Regions from separate parts of the Homo sapiens genome. Here region 2 is linked to region 1. The links are contacts of gene promoters, found by promoter capture Hi-C in human tissues and cell types (Jung and others, 2019). All regions are on one chromosome and are shown on one strand. Each heading gives the region's core, a stretch centred on a gene start or on the middle of the fragment in contact. The rest is flanking DNA. Distances are from core to core; before and after follow the strand shown.

Region 1 (5,639 bases), core at 3,018-5,517:
TTGTTAGGACTAAATATATCATACTCTTGGCAGTTCCCTTGCTTGCTTTCTCCCCATTCTGAGTTTGAATTTTCTGCATGACTGAGTTCACCTCCAAACTATGAAAAATAAAAGTTTTCTCACTATTTAATAGATGTGTATGATATGGTATCACTCAGATGATATATGTTTTTATAATGGGTGCTTGACTCATTCAGGGTCATGCTAGCAATAGACTTCCTTAAATGTGATTACTGAAAGCATGGCAATTCATATCATAATCTTCATTTTAAGAAATAAATAAGGAAAACGGCCACTTAAAGCTCCTGCTGTGTTGGTCAGTCCTACTCCTCCACTTCAAGGTGCAAAATGGCTCACCTGTCAAAAGGTTCTCTCAAAACCTATTTTTATCAGAAATGAGCTCCTTATCACACAAGAGCAGCTAAGTAAATACCACAAAATACTATTTTCCCACATTTTAAAAGAGTGACTCGACTAATGGTCTGCAAAAAATCCAAGACCTTATTTTTAGGGGTAAAAAAGAGAGCTGTAGACCCAGAAGGCCGAATGCGGTCTTTAAAGGATTCCACGTAATCTGAAAATTCCACGTATATTTCTATAGCAGGATGAGAATTTTTAGCCCAGTATAGCACAGTCCTTTTTATTTACATTTGCTAAGATTACATTGGTAAGATTAATATTTCCGATTTCAGGTTTGCCTAAAGGACCCACTGCATTTATGGAGAAACTGAAAAATGAAAAAGTAGCTCCTAGAACTCGTGCCAGCGAGAACTTGGTAAATGTTAGTTGATTAAATATTAGTCAAGGATGACAAGGTGGACCCCAGGGAGGGCAGAACCGTTTCCGATGGGTCAGTGTGATTCAGCTACGGGAAAGGCGATCGCAGCGACGCGGGAAGCAGAGATCGGCGACTGCTCAAGAGGCCTCAGGGGACAGGGTGACTCGCCACTGTGCCCTACCATACAGTGCGCTCTGGGAGTCCCGGGTAAAGGGGGTCATTCCCGCGAGGGATGCGGAGAGCAGAGCGGCCGGAGGAGCGGCTAGGGATCTCGCCGGGTCACCGGGGAGGGTAGACTACGTAGCCCCGAGAGCTTTGAGAACTTGGGCTGAAGGCGGCGCTCGCCGTGAGAACTGACGCGGAGGTGCAGCTTTGCAGCCCTACAGATGTTCTACCGCGTGTGCCTGGCGCTACCGCACGGGCTGACTCAGCTAGGCAGAGGCGGAGGCGGGCGCGCGGGAGACAGAACTATCCGCGGCGCCTGCCCGTGTACCCGGCTACCGCGCGCACGCGGGGAGACACCGCCCCGTTTGCCTTCTGGCTCCCGGTGATTGGCGGTTAGACGATGGCTGGGGAGCAGGGTCACGGACACTATTGGCTGCAAACAACAGTCACTCAAAAAGTCAGGTAGGGGAGGGGCCTCCTCAGGGAGGGACAAGACTGTGAGGCTTTTTCAAGGCCGTCAGACGCCATCTTTAGCTTGTTTTTGTTTACTTGCTTTTGTTCTCTGCTGCTCACAAACCTGTGTGTACACGATTATAAGCACAGTGGCCACAAATCGGCGTCACACGTTGGGTGGTGGCCGACTTTTAGTTACTGCTGGCCTCGGTTACATTTCTTTCACATGTCACCTGCAAATTAGCAGCTCCTCACAGTTCAAAGAAGTTTCCAATACTAGGGGCCCCGAGGATTCCCAGGCAAAATCAACAGAGTTTAGTTTTGCTTTGCTTTGGAAGGCCAAGCCAACGATATATATGTGCGAGGAATTCTCTCCTTTCTTAGGAAGAAAAAGCAAGAACAGTGGATATGACCCTACGTTCCTGGATGTAGAAATCAAATAGCCTAGGAAATCAGGGATACGGGCTCTGCACTGTTCAGGGAGAGCTCTCCCTATTTTTTGAGACGCTAAAAAGTAAGGTAAAAAGTATATGTGATGACCTGTAGTGATGTGGAAAAGAGCTAAAAAGGGTAAAACTCCATTAAAAATTCCCGTAACTGGCCGGGCGCGGTGGCTCACGCCTGTAATCCCAGCACTTTGAGAGGCAGAGGCGGGCGGATCACCTAAAGTCAGGAGTTGGAGACCAGCCTGACCAACATGGTGAAACCCCGTCTCTACTAAAAATACAAAAATCAGCCCGGCATGGTGGCACATGCCTGTAATCCCAGCTACTCGGGAGGCCGAGACAGGAGAATCGCTTGAACCCAGGAGGCGAAGGTTGCAGTGAGCCAAGATCGCACCATTGCCACTGCAGCCTGGGCAACAAGAGCGAAACTCCGTTTCAAAAAAAAAAAAAAAAAAAAAAAAAACTCCCATCACTGTTGTGATCACAAAGATCACTAAAATGTGACTAGATTTCAAAGAAATGCAGGTCTGAAATTGTGGAATAATCCACAGTCGAGCCAGTATTTATTAAGCACTGGTCTGACTTGAATTGTTAGAGAATAAAAATACACTCAGCACAAGTAAGAAACCCAGAAAGCCCAAACAGGGCCACTTTTGTTATAAATTTGTACAAGTAACTTTATTGCAGTCAGTATTTAGGAGTCAAATACTGCTTGAAATAGAGTAGGATGCTAGCTGTGTAATAGAAATGCATTATTATACAGAAGTTTTGTTGTAATGAAATTTAAATTCTACAGTAGATTTTTTTTTTTGTCTCCTGGTTGTCACTGCATTTGTGACATTCCAGTTTCTCCCTCAGCACCTCATATACCTCCTATGCTTTCACTCCAATCTGCGAATACAAATTTGGATACAGATATTTTCCATACAACTTCTAATGAGGAGATAGTGATTCTGTAACAGAATGAAGTGAAAATAGGGCTCCTATAACAGGAGGTTCTGCTCTGCGAGCCTGTTTTTCTCTAATTCATATACTTTTTTCTGTGACTCTTAGAAATGAGAAGCTTTCCATTCTAAAAATGCAACATGATAACCAAAAGGCATTTCTTATCCCTTCTATTATTTGCCTTTGCATCCTCTTGGCTCCCCATCACCATCACCATGAACAGTTTTTGAGAATTACACTTGACTGGATTTTTTTCCTGATACTTTGCCAGCTGTGGAGCTTTTCGAATATTCCAACCAATAAACGACCATTTTGTCAAAAAGCCAAGAAAGAACTTCCCTTCTGAACACACCAACCAAACCACACATAAAGGCCAAAATATACACAGCTGTACACTTAAGAACGTGAGACAATAAAAAGCAAAACCACTTAGGCAAAACAGTCACTGAAGGCTTTGAACCACAGATTCAATAAATTGCCTACTCTCATTTGCCACATGGACTATATACTCCTTGGCAATTATTTAATTATTCATTATTCTGATCCTTTAGGAGCAGAAAAATATAGTAAATGCACATAGAAAGTGCCTAAGTATGCTAAGCATAGGATTTCTTCTAAGCTCTGCTTTGCACACAAAATATTTTGATCACATTTGGGAAGACAACGGAAAAAAATTCACATCCTAGGGGATACTTTGCACACATAAAACCAGATATATTTATCACTTTTGAAAATAAAATCTGATATGGCACATATACACACATATTGTACATATACACAAATAACCCCAAGTTATAACTTTACAAATTTGTTTCAAGAAACACACACACACACACACAAATGTTCTAATGAAAATGTGTGTGAAAGACACACTGTAATTAAGGTCTTTCCCCCTTCCCTAGGGAAATGAATGTCTCCATTATAATATCCCAATATTAACTTATTGGCCTTGGACAAGTGCCACATCCCAGCCACTTGGTTTTGGTTCTGGGGGGGTGGGTGTGTAAAAAGCACGCAAACGGCTTTATGAGGGAGCCTCAAATCTCTCTGCTTCCTTCGATGTTGCCTGTGGCAGAAATTTACATTATCCCTTCAGCCCGCTTAAAAAATTCTGTACTTCCCAAGCGGCTAAATTTTTAAAGTCCCTCAACCACAAAAATCTACCAGTTCTTAAAATGTGATTTAAAAAAAAGAAAAAAAAACTATAAATTTGGCCGGAAACGGTTGTACACGGCCATCCTGCTTCTCAACTTCTTGGTATATTTAAAACCTTGACCAGGAAAAAGAAAGAGGAAGAGAGACAGAAAAAGAAATGGGGGAAAGAGCAAATTCCCCTTAGCAACAGTTTCCTCACCCCAACACTGCTACAGATCTCTATTTTTAAAAAATTTGAAAACACACACAAGATTAAGGAGGAAAAAAAATGGAAAAAGGATACCCGAAGGTCGTATGGCTCTTTGTATTCGTGTGTGTGCAAAAAGGAGGACTCGCGGAGCCCGAGCCGGCAAGCCCCGCCCCTCCCCGGACGCCCTCCCGGATTGGCCGTCCGCGGCCGCGGGGCGCCCCGCCCGCAAGCACACGCGCCGCGCCCGAGGCGCCAACCCCGGAGTTGGGGGCGGGGGGGGCCCTGAGGGCCGCCGGACCCCCGACCCCCAACCTCGCCTGGACCTTGGCAGACCCCTTTCCCACCTCTCTCCCTTTCACTTTCTCACCGTCCTGTCACCCTTTCCCATCTTTTTTTCTCAGTGAAACAAGGCCCAGTCACCAGCATAACAATCCAGTGAGCGACCTCCGGACACTTTGTTAAATTGAGTGAACTAGTCAGTAACATTCTAGACTGCAATTAAACATCAGGGACTTGGTGCGTGGGCCCTACTCCGGTTTCCAGGTGAAATGTCTCTGGGTCACGTGTGTTGCTTAACACCCCCACGTTTAAATGAACATTCACGTATGGAACATCTTTCTGAAGTCTTACACTTCAGCCCGAGCTCCCAGTTTATCTACCTGGCTCAGACCACATTCTCAAAACTAAAGTGGCTCCTCTTTATTTCCAGGAAGACAGCTGGTATACCTGGATTTTAAGCCACCCATAATCTGGTCCCACCCACCTATTTGTTATTTATTTATTTATTTAGACAGAGTCTCGCTCTGTCACCCAGGCTGGAGTGCAGTGGTATGATCTTCGCTCACTGTAAACTCCGCCCCTCCGCCCCCACCCCCACCCCCACCCCCACCCCGCCCAAGCGATTCTCCTGCCTCAGCCTCCCAAGAAGCTGGGACTACAGGCGTGCGCCACTGCACCCAGCTAATTTTTTTTGTTTTTGGTAGAGACAGGGTTTCGCCATGTTGGCCAGGCTGGTCCTGAACTCCTGACTTGAGGTGATGTGCCCACCCTGCCTTTTTTTTTTTTTTTTCAGTGATGTGATCTCGGCTCACTGCAACCCCCACCTCCGAGGCTCAAGCGATTCTCCTGCCTCAGCCTCCCGAGTAGCTGGGATTACGGATATATGCCACCACGCCCGGCTATTTTTTTTTTTTAAGTAGTGACGGGGTTTCACCATGTTGGCCAGGCTGGTTTTGAGCTCTTGACCTCAAGTTATCCTCCCGCCTTGGCCTCCCAAAGTGCTGGGATTACAGGCGTGAGCCACCGCGCCTGGGCACATATTTGTTCTTAGTTCCCTCTACGCTCGTCTTATCAATCTTGTATTATTCCTTTACTCAAGTGGCTTTTTTTTTTTTTTTTGGCCTGAATTATGCGTCTCCCCTTCCCTGACTGGTCAATTTTTATCCATTCTCTTTCAGCACAGACTGCTTACTTCCTTCTCTCCGCTCCCATCAACATGAATTTCATG
Region 2 (5,795 bases), core at 3,191-5,690, 470 kb after region 1:
TATGGTATAAACTTTGGCTGCTGCCTCCTCAGCATGAACTGTTTCTCTTTTCTCTGTTCTTGGATAACCCTGCTTATTTTCATCATGTAGATGAAACAGAAGCTGAGCGGGAGAAGAAGCGTCTAGAACGAGCCAAGAGACGGGCATTGAGCAGCTCTGTCATTCGTGAACTTAAGGAGCAGTACTCAGATGCTCCAGAGGAAATCCGTGATGCTCGGCATCCCCATGTTACCCGCCAGAGTCAGGAGGACCAACACAGGTCTGAGCCCTTGCATTAGAAATTATTCCTGCACTCTAGAGTCCTGTCCTCATGCTTTATACTAATGTGACTAAGTTTGGTACCAAGAGAATTAATGTTACATAGAAAATGGAGTGAAAACTTTGGGATGATAGTTTCTAAGAATCAGGAGTTTGGAGTTCAGGATAGAAACTAGGAAAATTTTTACCCCAACTGTTTAGTTCAAAGCAAAAGCAGTACATTGCAATTCGACATGAGATTTGAGGGGGAAAAAAGCAGTACAAAGAGGAATGTATGCAGTTCCACATAGTACAACTTTAAGATTCTGTGTTTCACTGTCACAGCTCTCACTTTTGTGCAGAAGGCAATAAAGGTAGGTTTTTATAGTGACATTGTGAGTGCTAGATAAGTTCAGGGAAGGAAAGTAGAAAAGCAGTGTAATTGAATACAGACTCGTCAACTTTGCTCAGGTGCAGTCTTTGCAGTTGATGGATTTGCATGAAAGGACACGTTTAGGGAAACCTGCTTATAGAGCTGAAATAAAAAAATTTTGGTGTAATATTTTAAATAATATTGTGGATAGGCTATGGATTCATATCTAGCATGAGGGAAGTTCTAGCACAGAGCACATTTCATTGAGGAAGCTCAGTATTGAGCATTCAATATGTCCTTACTAAATACTATGTTGATCTGCTGTGAAACTTCTTGAGAACTCCCTGAACAAGAGATGAGTAGATACTTGGGCCCAGGTTGTGGGCTGGAGCTTTCCATCTCCATGGTCTGAGCCTGCTGGAAACTGTCTTTCTCTGGCAGGATTAACTATGAGGAGAGCATGATGGTGCGTTTGAGCGTCAGTAAGCGAGAGAAAGGACGGCGAAAACGAGCAAATGTCATGAGCTCACAACTTCATTCCCTTACACACTTCAGTGACATCAGTGCTTTGACAGGGGGAACTGTTCATCTTGATGAGGTGAGGTTGAGATATGGTTGTAGTAGGATGTGACTTTCATGCTTTCAGCAAAATGTATGTGGGGCTTATTACCATGAGGAACTTGGGAAGGGATGCTGGCTCTCAGAACCACAGTGCCATTCCATCACTTCTCCATCTGTCTCCAGGATCAGAATCCTATTAAGAAGCGGAAGAAGATACCTCAGAAAGGTCGGAAGAAAAAAGGTCAGTGAACTGCTGGGACTTAGGTGATCAGGTGCAAGGTGGGGAGTACAAATTGAGTCTCTTTGGATTTGCCATTCTGGGTCTCACCAAGCCCTGTAGTATCTCTTCCATACTGGGCAATAATCTCCTTAGGTGGGCTTTTATTTTTTGCTTTCCTGAGCTGGAAATCAGCATCATTCACAAAATGAATCTCTGGATTCTGCCTCTAAGGTCCCACAGCTCCTGTTCAGGCTTCCCTAAATAGAACTGGTAAAGTGTCACTTGAAGGAACCATTATCCCATTTCAATTTTATTCCTACTTCTCGTCTTTTGTCCTGGGAAGATATTCAGGGTACTGCCTAGGAGACCCCACCCCTGTGAGCCCTTCCCTCTAGATGTCCTGTTTTCCTGTCCCTTTAGCTTTTCCAACTGTCCTTTGCCTCATTCTTGGTTTCCCTTCCTTTCAGGTTTTCGGAGGCGGCGGTGATTATGGGTGTACATATTTGTATATTTTTTGTCATCCTGAGATACTTCTAATTTCATTGTATATAGGTGGTTTTCCCTGGAATTCATTAATTGTTTGCTTTGGACATGTGGAAAGAGCCTTACTAATAAAATTGATTTTGCTTATGAATTAAAGCCCCTTTTTGCACATGTATTGTACGACTGGAGTCGTTGGGTTTGGGATATTTTTGGTGAGTGGTTGGTGAAAAGGGAAATTTTTTTTGGAAGTGCAAAACATTTGTATTGTTTTCTTTGATAATATATTTTTCCCAAAAACTAAAAATTGGTTACGTCACAAAAAGTATTGAGAGACGAGGCTGGTATAATCAACTCTTTCAACCCATGTTGCCACAACTTCCTGTATGATTTGTTATAATACAATACAGATTGAGATATTAACACATGAATTTTAGGTTTTATTAGTGTTATCTGGGCTGGCCACCAGGTGGCATAAGTGGTTCAAGAAACTTGAGCTTGGCTGTAATCAAAAGCAAGATAGAACCTTTCCACATCAGCAAGATTATTCTTATCTCCACTTCTCTGAATGTTTTTCATTTCTTTCTGAAATAGCATGAACATAAGGCTGATCTTTGGTCAGTTACTGAGGGAGTTTGTAGAAAATAGTAGAGTGAGTAAGAAGGCTAGAGTGAAGAGTCAGTATAGTCTTGTGTTTTTCAGACTCTGACCCCCACCCCCCCGCCTTCAACTGAGGGTCATTTTACCAGAGTCAATAAAGGCCAACCCTTCTATAAAGAGCTGGCAAAAAAAAAAAAAAAAAAAAAATGCCAGCAGACAAGCAGAACATTCCTAGCTTAACAGCCAAACAAATGAAAATCCCACAGAAATAATTAGCCAAACTCAAGCCAGGAGACTGGTGGGCGTTATACATCTGAGATCTTGTATTCTAATGAGAGAATAACCTCTGTTGGTGAGATGTCCCACAGGCCTTGGATAATACAGAAAGTGAAAAAAGGGATTAAAAAAAGATAGAAGTTGGGTCTGTAGAATTAATTCATTGGAGTTTTTAAAAAAGGCTTTGGGTCTCATGAACATCTGATTTTAATGTCTAGTATTGCTGGGTTATATCGATAGACAAATTAATTTGGGTTATATGACTAAAACCTCGTTGATTCTGAATTTCTGAATTTGGATTTATACTATTCAGCCTGATTGGGGCAGGGGTCTTTCACTCAGCTGCCGCTTGGTAGAAAGTAGTTAGGAGACTGGACCTATGGCTGTCTTAGGCTAATTCTGTGATCTTGGGCAAATCACTTAATATCCCTGGCCTTTAATTTTCCTCAGCTAAGGAATGTATTAGACTTCATCTGTGAGATTCCCTTCAAGTCAAAGAGCCTAGAGCTTTTGTGCATGACACCAAGATGGGCTTATGTCTGGGGCCGCTAACCTTTAGTCCCTGATAGATCTGAGAGAGTCTCACATGCCCTGGGCTCTCATACTTCTGTTTCCTCAAGGGAATCTAAACAAAGAGCCACAAGAACAGATTTAGAGACTTTTTTTCCTTTATGGCTGAACTAACTAGATGAGTGATTCAGTTCAAAAATACTTTAGTTAAAACCACTTCATTTGCTTGTTAGGACCACTATATTTGTTTCTAATTTATTAAGATTTGTGGATTATGGGAACTTCCAGGGGAAGGGAAGTGCTCTTTAAAAAACAAAACAAAACAAAACAAAACAAAACAGGTACTACCTTCTGGCCAGGTGTGGTGGCTCATATCTATAATCTGGACACTTTGGGAGGCTGGGTCAGGAGGATAGTTTGAGGCCAGAGAGTTCAAGACCAGCATGTTTAACACAACAAGACCCTGTCTCTAAAAAAAAATAAAAATAAAAAAATTAGGCAGGTGTGGTGGCGTGTGTCTGTAGTCCCAGCTGCTTGGGAGACTGAGGCAGGGGTATTGCCTAAGCCCTGGAGTTTGAGCTTGCTGTGAGCTATGATCTTACCACTGCATTCCAGACTGAATGATAGTAAGACCCATCAAAAAAAAAAAAAAAATTCCTGTGCTATAGGCTGAGCTAAGTGCTTTATACTTAATCCTTATAAATTTTTTTTTTTTTTTTTGAGATGGAGTCTCACTCTGTTGCCCAGGCTGGAGTGCAGTGGCGTGATCTCCGCTGACTGCAACCTCTGCCTCCTGGGTTCAAGCGATTCTCCTGTCTCAGCCTCCTGAGTAGCTGGGACTATAGCCACGTGCCACCACACCTGGCTAATTTTTTGTATTTTAGTGGAGACAGGGTTTCACTGTGTTAGCCGGGATAGTCTCAATCTCCTGACCTCGTGATCCACCCACCTTGGCCTCCCAAAGTGCTGGGATTACAGGTATGAGCCACCACGCCTGGCAATCCTTATAAAATTTATGAAATCTCCATTTTACTAGTGAGGAAGCTTAGACACTTAGGGCAAACAATTTTTCCTGAGTTGGAGAACCAGTGCTTGGGGAACACTGAGGATGGAGGACTTCAAGTGTCCTGTGGTTCATGAAAATCTTCAGGGTTAAAAAATCTTTTTTTATTTGTAGGTGGTTTATAATCTAGCTCCCCCGCCCTACTGCCCCATTTCTGTTACAGGCCTCGTCTTCAAAGAAACCCTAAGTTCCACAATTCTGGTCTCTTTGTGGTATACCAGTGAACACAGCAGACAAAATCCCTGCCTTTGTGGACCTTATATTAATTCAATCAAGTCTTTAATCCCAGGACATTTTGTTTTCCCTGGCTTTTAGGCATTATTTGAAAGAAGTTTCTGGTAAAAAGTTGAACTATTTCTGAGAATATTTGTACCAGAGTCATCAAACACTGTTTAGAGTGTATTGTTTGATGGAGTATTACATGGATTCTCAATATGTAAAACAAGCATAAGTGGGGTTACTTTGATTGAAGTGGGAATGAGGGGTCCTGAAGTTCCATGTTCTTATGACCCCCTTTCCCCAAGATTCCTGAGGAGCCCCCAAGGAACCTTTAGAATTCCTTAGAATATAGTTTGAAAACAACTGTTAGGGTAGTAGAACAAGGGAACTAAGAACTAGAATTTTAGGATTTCGTTATGGCTGTTCTGGTCACTTTTTTTCTTTCCCTTATTCCTACTAATAGATTCAGTTATCTGATTATTCAGACCATATGAATATCGGATTTCCTCAGTGTATTGCTGACAACAGATCATTTCTGGTGTTCACTAAGTAATAGCTGTCATTAATGCACACATGAGCACCTTACCTGTTTGGTTTTATCATGTGATGGTTTTGTCATGTGATAGCTTTATTCTGTAGAAGTAATTTACATCTCTGCCTCATTCTTTTCATCTTAGGGGACAGGGAAGAGAGTTTGACCAAGGTCTGTCTTTGCCTTAAAATCATTGTTTTGTTAGGATTTTATGAAGGCTTGGGGAAATGTCTATTGGGAATTCACAACAGTCTTCATAGATACCTTATTAGGAAAACTGTGTTTTGTTTGCAGGGGAGATTATTAGTGTGTCAATTTTCAGCACCATGGAGAGTTCAAACGCTCCTCATTCCTTGGTTTGGTGAATGGGACACAGCTAAACCATAGAGCTGCGTGGTGTAGACCTGCCCTTTTTCAGAGCCCAGTTTGTCCAGTCTCCAGTTCTGATTGGTACAGATTGGATGAGAGTCAAACACACCCCTGAGTGTCCCCCATCCTCCCTGGAATCTTTTAGGTCCATAAATCCCAGATTCATGCCAAGGATTTGGCTAACTTGATGGAGGTATGTGAGTGGAATCCTGCCTCCTGCTCCATTGGTAACATCATTTATCATTTATATTATGATACATGAAATTTTTACCAGCCCTTAAGAAAAACTCTGTTCCCTACTCATCTTTGCTTAGAGAACCTTGAGGGGACTTAAAGTTGCTTTTTCATTCCTTGG

Evidence for each region. The method cuts DNA at HindIII sites, captures the fragments that hold promoters and counts their contacts. A contact is called where the count stands out against the background at its distance.
Region 2: a contact is called between a fragment that was not itself captured here and the fragment with the promoter of C14orf93 in region 1, in 1 of the 25 tissues and cell types used here (hippocampus).

Annotation. Positions count from the first base shown.
Region 1 is chr14:23,005,876-23,011,514 of GRCh38, forward strand. C14orf93 (chromosome 14 open reading frame 93) reads right to left here and starts at 4,268. Exons shown (of 7, transcript NM_021944.4): 1 at 4,226-4,268. It overlaps LOC124903286 (a long non-coding RNA gene), which reads left to right. Exons shown (of 2, transcript XR_007064075.1): 2 at 693-3,109. RefSeq lists enhancers at 766-1,135, 2,069-2,629 and silencers at 1,296-1,345, 4,257-4,606. The HindIII fragment of the contact is 12,898 bases long and covers 1,053-5,639 here.
Region 2 is chr14:23,476,149-23,481,943 of GRCh38, forward strand. NGDN (neuroguidin) reads left to right here. Exons shown (of 11, transcript NM_001042635.2): 7 at 1-4; 8 at 91-259; 9 at 1,052-1,208; 10 at 1,355-1,412; 11 at 1,859-2,025. The coding sequence ends at 1,878. Among named protein-coding and RNA genes, the nearest start is that of NGDN, 9.3 kb to the left of the region's middle. The HindIII fragment of the contact is 5,158 bases long and covers 1,862-5,795 here.